Regions from separate parts of the Homo sapiens genome. Here region 1 is linked to region 2. Evidence: promoter capture Hi-C in human tissues and cell types (Jung and others, 2019). All regions are on one chromosome and are shown on one strand. The core of a region is centred on a gene start or on the middle of the fragment in contact, and the rest is flanking DNA. Distances in the headings are between cores, read along the strand shown.

The links. Contacts are between HindIII fragments. The study calls those that stand out against the background at their distance.
Region 1: a contact is called between a fragment that was not itself captured here and the fragment with the promoter of KCNU1 in region 2, in 1 of the 25 tissues and cell types used here (liver).

What each region holds. Positions count from the first base shown.
Region 1 is chr8:36,829,138-36,832,947 of GRCh38, reverse strand. The region is part of intron 10 of KCNU1 (potassium calcium-activated channel subfamily U member 1); the gene reads right to left. Among named protein-coding and RNA genes, the nearest start is that of KCNU1, 47 kb to the right of the region's middle. The HindIII fragment of the contact is 6,698 bases long and covers 1-3,810 here.
Region 2 is chr8:36,782,693-36,786,856 of GRCh38, reverse strand. KCNU1 (potassium calcium-activated channel subfamily U member 1) reads right to left here and starts at 2,483. Exons shown (of 27, transcript NM_001031836.3): 1 at 2,252-2,483. The coding sequence starts at 2,446. The HindIII fragment of the contact is 3,588 bases long and covers 1,933-4,164 here.

The DNA of each region.
Region 1 (3,810 bases), core at 1,177-3,676, 46 kb before region 2:
GAATAAAAAAATAGAGTGCTAAAAATATTATGAGCTTGGAAGAAATTGCAACAATTCTTTATCATTATTCTTAGAAATATGTTGAAAATATTAAATATATATGCTTTGAGATACAGCAACAGCCGTGCTTTAGGAATAATTTGTAGCTTTGGAGATGTATTAGAATAGGATCAAGGAAATAAAAATAAAAGAAATGATGAAAACAAGAATAAGAAACAATGAAAAAGGAACAAAAAGATAAAACAGAGAAGATAAACCACATCAAAAGTCAGTTCTTTGAAAAATAACCTAGCATAATAGGCAAAAGTTTTGTAAAGTTAATGGAGAAAAAATAAAAGACAAAAATGATGCAAATATTGAACAAAGAAGATACAATACATATAGTCAAAGTAGAGATTAAAAAATAACAAAAGTAGACAGCAAATAACTGAATGTCAACAGCTCTGAAAACTTAGCCAAAATGAACAAATTACTTAAAAGTGTATCTTATCAGAACTAACTCTAGAAAAAATAAAAAGCCTAAACTGTTAAAGAAATTGAAGCTGTGGTTTCATGCTCATGGGTAGGAAGAATCAATATCGTGAAAATGGCCATATTGACCAAGGTAATTTACAGATTCAATGCCATCCCCATCAAGCTACCAATGACTTTCTTCACAGAATTGGAAAAAACTACTTTAAAGTTCATATGGAACCAAAAAAGAGCCCACTCACGAAGTCAATCATGAGCCAAAAGAACAAAGCTGGAGGCATCACACTACCTGACTTCAAACTATACTACAAGGCTACAGTAACCAAAACAGCATGGTACTGGTACCAAAACAGAGATATAGATCAATGGAACAGAACAGAGCCCTCAGAAATAACGCTGCATATCTGCAACTATCTGATCTTTGACAAACCTGAGAAAAACAAGCAATGGAAAAAGGATTCCCTATTTAATAAATGGTGCTGGGAAAACTGGCTAGCCATATGTAGAAAGCTGAAACTGGATCCCTTCCTCACACATTATACAAAAAATCAATTCAAGACGGATTAAAGACTTAAACGTTAGACCTAAAACCATAAAAACCCTAGAAGAAAACCTAGGCATTACCATTCAGGACACAGGCATGGGCAAGGACTTCATGTCTAAAACACCAAAAGCAATGGCAACAAAAGCCAAAATTGACAAATGGGATCTAATTAAACTAAAGAGCTTCTGCACAGCAAAAGAAACTACCATCAGAGTGAACAGGCAACCTACAAAATGGGAGAAAATTTTCACAACCTACTCATCTGACAAAGGGCTAATATCCAGAATCTACAATGAACTCAAACAAATTTACAAGAAAAAAACAAACAACCCCATCAAAAAGTGGGCAAAGGACATGAACAGACACTTCTCAAAAGAAGACATTTATGCAGCCAAAAAACACATGAAAAAATGCTCACCATCACTGGCCATCAGAGAAATGCAAATCCAAACCACAATGAGATACCATTTCACAGCAGTTAGAATGGCAATCATTAAAAAGTCAGGAAACAACAGGTGCTGGAGAGGATGTGGAGAAATAGGAACACTTTTACACTGTTGGTGGGACTGTAAACTAGTTCAACCATTGTGGAAGTCAGTGTGGCGATTCCTCAGGGATCTAGAACTAGAAATACCACTTGACCCAACCATCCCATTACTGGGTATATACCCAAAGGACTATAAATCATGCTGCTATAAAGACACATGCACACGTATGTTTATTGCGGCATTATTCACAATAGCAAAGACTTGGAACCAACCCAAATGTCCAACAATGACAGACTGGATTAAGAAAATGTGGCACATATACACCATGGAATACCATGCAGCCATAAAAAATGATGAGTTCATGTCCCTTGTAGGGACATGGATGAAATTGGAAATCATCATTCTCAGTAAACTATCGCAAGAACAAAAAACCAAATACTGCATATTCTCACTCATAGGTGGGAATTGAACAATGAGAACACATGGACACAGGAAGGGGAACATCACACTCTGGGGACTGTTGTGGGGTGGGGGGAGGGGGGAGGGATAGCATCGGGAGATATACCTAATGCTAGATGACGAGTTAGTGGGTGCAGCGCACCAGCATGGCACATGTATACATATGCAACTAACCTGCACATTGTGCACATGTACCCTAAAACTTAAAGTATAATAATAATAAATAAATTAAAAAAAAGAAAAAAATCTCTCAAAACACAACACACACACACACAAACACAAACCTACACATCCAAACACACACACACACCCCTCAAATAAAATGTAGGAAACCACTAGTTCTACATGGTTTCGCGTTTAACTTCTACCATACTTTAAAGCAACCCATAATCTCATTTTTCTACAAAGCCTTTTAAAGACATTAAAAATAGGAAATACTTCCTAACCAATACTAAAAAAGACAAAATAATCATATTACCAAAAATATCCGTGAGATTCACATTAACAAATTAAAAAACAACACTTATATAATCACCTCAGACGCAGAGACAAATTGATAGAAATATTTCTTCAGAGTTAAGAAATACAACTCATGGTATATTAGAAATAGAAGATAATATTTTTAACCCAACAAATATCTTTAAAATAAAAAAGATATCTTTAATGAAAAAATATTAAAGGTGCTTTTAAAAATGAGAAGTAAAGAAAAGATATCATCACTGCTCTTTTTCAACGTTATATTTGATGTCTCAGCAATAATTATACTATTTCAGACAAATAGTTTATTTCCTTCTTTCTAATCCTTATGTGTACAATTTATGTTTTATTATAAATATTTATTTTATTTATAAAGATTTACAAATCTGGATTAATAAAGATTTATTTTATTTTATTACAAAGATAAAATAAAGATAAATTGTTTTAATGTAAATAATTATAACTACACAAATATAAATAATATAAATATAATTATTTATATGGAAACCCCTAATATTACTACAGAAAAAAATAAAATTTATGTGGTTAGATATAAGACTAATATACAAAATTTAATTGTGTTTTTCCTGTACTAAGAACAAACAACTAGTAAACCCTACTGGAAGATATTACTTTTACTAATATCAGAAAATACCAAGTACCTAGAAATAAAAGTTAGTAAGCTCTCTACCTGGGAAATTATACCACATTATTCAGGGGTACTAAAGGAGAACTAAATAAATGAATAAACCCAGCATAGTAAAAGTTGGAAAGAGTTTGTAGCATAAAGCAGTCAATGCTGCATCTAAACTTTCAATTAGATTCGCATTAAATTTCTGCAGTTTTTCATAATAAAATAATATACATGATAAAATAATTTTAAAATTTATATAAAATATAAAGGGCCAAGTAAAGCTTGTCAACTATAAAAAAAAATAAAAGGTAAAAAGACTTGCTCTAGGGATAGATAGAACTAGTTATAAAGATTTAGTAATTAAAAGACTGTAGTATTAATGCAGTAATAGAAAATTATACAAATTGTCACTCTATAAACCCCATCGTTACTCTACAAAAAATTCTAAATGAATTAGAGACATAAATGACGAAAAAAATTTAAAATTATTGGTAGGAAATGTAGTTCAACATATTTTAAACAGTGGAATAGGGAAAAAGTTTCTAAACAAAAAACAATAAGTGCTTTAATATAATAGAAAATATTCAATATTTGACTATAATAACATTAAAAACTTTTAAGCATCAGAAGATATGTAATATTCAGCAATAAGACAAATTATAAACTGAAAGAAGAAATTGCAGTTCCCACAACTGATGAAGAATTATTGCAAATAATATATTACACATCCCTAAAAT
Region 2 (4,164 bases), core at 1,234-3,733:
TTTTGTGTTGCTCTTAGTTTTTTGCCTGGTGTTATATTCTGAAATTATAATCCTTCCTCACATTTATAGAATGTCTTTACTTATTATATTTAAATGTTACGGTAATCTCATATGATAAAGTTAGGCATGACTAAATACATTTTATATTGATGTGGATACCAAGGTATAGAGAAATTAAATGACTTTCCTAATATCAGGCAATGAGGAAAGGCTGGGGCCTGAGCTGGCATTCATTGTTTGTTGATAATAGTCTAGAACCACCACAAAGAAATACACAAACCAACTAGGACTACCCACACCAAGCTAGATGAGTCCCTCTGACTTTCAAAAAAGCTCATTTTATATGAAGCCAGGATTTCAAAATCACTTAATTTTTCTACTCATATTTTCTGAATGATAAAAAGGGAAGTCTCATTAAAAAACTCTTTGATAAAAGTTCACATCCTGATCAATGATTTGCCCTCTAATAAACATGACTCATGTCGGTTTCTAAATGTTGTCTGAGAATTAATTTTAAAAAATCCTAGGTATGACATTAATATAGAATACTCATTTGAATTCCATCATAAAATTGGAGCTACCTTCTGTGGAAAAACAAATTGGTCCTAAGATATAATAAACTCATATTTATAGATGTAATACATGTTTTAAATGCACATTTAAGGAGAGAAATTGTAACTCTCCAAATAATTTTTAAAATAACTCTTCACAGTACACCTAGATTTCTGATTTTTTTTTTTTTTTGCATTTGTCCAACTTCTCCAAAGGCTTAGAGAAAAACAGGTCACTCTTAATTTGATGTAATAAAACAAATCATTGAAAAGTAACTCAACTTGATCAAACTCTTTCCTCAAGATTCAAAAGCAGAATGGTACAGCATTCTGGTTGCTCAGGCTCACTTCTTAACATTTTGTAACATTTGCTAAATATTTGTAATTAAAGGGTATACCTGGATCGAAGTGTAGACATAAATTACACCCAAAGTAAGAAATGAAAAATATAGGAAATTGACAAATGTACTGTCACATTTTTGTAATCACACAAAATGAACATAATGGAGAAGAAGAACATTGCCTGGAGCAGAAGACTAAGAAGATTTAAAAATCCTACAAATTCAGTTGTGCATTAACAACAACAAAACAAGGTAGAAACAAGGAGGCAGATCCATCATAGCTATTTACCCATATGTCAGTATCCCAGAATTCTTTCTCCAATTATTGTGCCACAGCTTAAAATCCATAATGTAGAAATAATCAATAGAATAAACTTGTTTAGGAACAAAATCTATAAGCTTCAGTATTGGATAATTTTCAAATATGGAAAACAAAATTCCATATTACCAATAACTTTAAAAACTTATCAATTTATGAATTATATTTTATGTAGGTTTTAGCACTAAAAGAAATGTTTTAAGCAAATTTTCAATATTATGATGCACAGGTGAAATGTGTTGTGTTATGGAAATTGCTATAATCTATCAGAGAAAGAAAGTTTGGGAAGCAAAATTGGAAACAAACTACACAGGGTATAGTAAAACTCTTCACCTTTGACCTCTGGTAATAGAACATCCATTACACAGCATTTGAGAGCTTTATTTCAAGCTCTTAAGCAATGCCTTATCTGTATAATACATCATTTATTCTCATCATCATCATTTGCCAGCTGTTATTCAACAACATCAACTCCTGCTAAGCTTGTTTGGGTATAAGAAATGTCCTTGCATCTATGCCTGGATGGCACAGGCATGTATGCATGGGCTTCTCTGTGTATGTGCAACTCAATGTGTTGTCTTCATATGGTATACAAAAGGCAATGTACACGTCAGTACATATGCATTATGCATGAACAATTTATGAAAGCAAGGTTGATGTTGATGTCTTGTTCCCTTTCACCTCCTTTCTATGACCTAGCACAATTGTCTTGTTAAAATTCGAGATAGAGGCATGGACATAATGTTTATGAACTTTTTTTCAGAACAGTGACCTCTGTTTCCAGAGCTAACATTAATCATTATCCATACAAGACATTGCTTTTTCCAGTGATGGGAGAGAGAAGAGGCTTGGCCCTGTCTCTTCAGGCCTCAGAATGTGGCCTGAGGTCTGGCTTACCACCCTTTCTGAGGCACCAGGCTATAGAAGCTGACTCTGTTAGCTTGAAAAACTGAATGAAGCTTAGATCTTTTACTAAACACAAAACTACCCCAAACTCATCTCTGACTTCACACAGAGGGATCCCTAACAAGGAAACTGACCAAGATAATTCCTGTTCCCTTGATGATTTGCCATTTTTTAACAGATCTCCAGATCAGCCTGAAGATCAACAGGATGATGAGTCCACTGAAGAAGGTCACAAAGGAAGAGAGAATGAATGCTGCTTGGATCTCAGTTGTGCAGGACATTTTTGGCAAGTCTTCCCAAGTTTCATTTCGTAGCTTAGTCTGAAACATGTTCGAGACATCAGTAGACGGAATTGCCAGGTCATTTGATGACGCCGTGGTCGCCTGGTAACAATTCCAGGAATCAGAGTTCACTGTACCACAGTGTTCCAACATTAGGCGTGATAACCAGTGAGAAGTTCCAGGAACAAGGGTCTGCCAATCCCCCGGTGCCAGCTCATGGGTTGTGAATGAATACACAACTGGAGATGGCTGGGGCCTACAATATGAATAGTCAAAAAAATCATAATTCTAGATCGGATTGTTACGACTTTCTCTATGCCTTGAAGAAATCCCATTATCTGTAGCAATGATCAGCTGGTTATCAGTTCAGTTAATGCAGTCAAATAATTTCAAATCAACTCTTTCGGAGTGAAACAACAGCCAACTATGTGTGTGAATGAGTTGGTTCTCTATCTGGGAGGATGCCACGTGCTTAGTAGGCTTGGAAGGACAGAAGAGAGAAGTACTTTAAAGTTTTTGTTTATCCTTTATACAAAGGAGCAGATATGCAGAATGAATAAGTCTAGAAGATCTAGTGTGCAGAACAAAGAACATAATTAATAAAATTATTTGTATTCAGGATTTTTGCTAAAAGAGTAGATTTTAAGGGCTCTTGTTACACGCACACAAAAGATGATTAACTCTGTGAGATGATAGATATATGAATTTGCTTGACTGTAGTCACTGCTTCACTATGCATAAGTTTATCAAAAGAGCATTTTGCGTTTGTACTTGTATGCGGAAGCTAAAACAGTGGATCTCATAAAGATAGAGAGTAGATTCATGGTTACGAGATGCCGGGAAGGGTGGCTGAGGAAAGAAGTTGGATAAAGAGAAGTTGATTAATGGGTACAAATATTTGGTTTGATAGAAGAAATAACATCTAATGTTCTATAGATCAGTGAAGTGACTATAGCTTATGATAATCTATTGTACATTTAAAAATAGCTAGAAGAGAAAAATTTGAATGTTTCTAGCACAAAGAAAATACAAATATGTAAGTTGATTGATATCCCAAGTACACAAATTATGTGAATGTATTAAATTATCACGTGACTTGAAAATATGTGTATCTGCTGTGCATCAATCCAAAGAATATCACGTTGTACTCCTTAATTACACACAATGAAAATCAAGATTATCTTGAAACAGAAAAAAAAAGGTTTTGTTTATTCTTTACATAAGAAAGGCATAGTATAGAGTGCAGGTATTGAAGAAGACAATTTAACTAGTGTGGTCATTGGTTGATTGTTATTTCAGCCCATAAATCCATTCCACTTATCTCTTCTTTATGGAACTCTCCCCTTTCTTGCTTTTATTACTGCCCTGGCAGCAAACCTTTTGGCCCAGCAGAGGTAAAGTTCAGAATGAGAGAAATTTCTTTGATTTTCCCTGATGTTTTCAAAGGTGTAAGAAATGTCATGCCTTTCAGTGTGCACAAGTGGCAGGCAAAATGTCAGAGCCCAGTGGAGGGCCTAGTTCACCCCAGTTATTACCAAGATAACCTGACACCAGGTGAAGAGGCCCAAGAGGAATCATCACGCTGTCCTTGGGAGCCCGCCATGACTCCACACTGTTTGGCAGGCTGTTTCAGAAGATAACTGTAGCATTTCCTAGGACTGCTGCCACAGTTACATTTCCTGCTTTTAAGCTTACCTATCATTTCTACAAAATCCTGTCATTGAGCTAGCTAATAACAAAGGGCGATGTTTAAAAGAACACTGGTC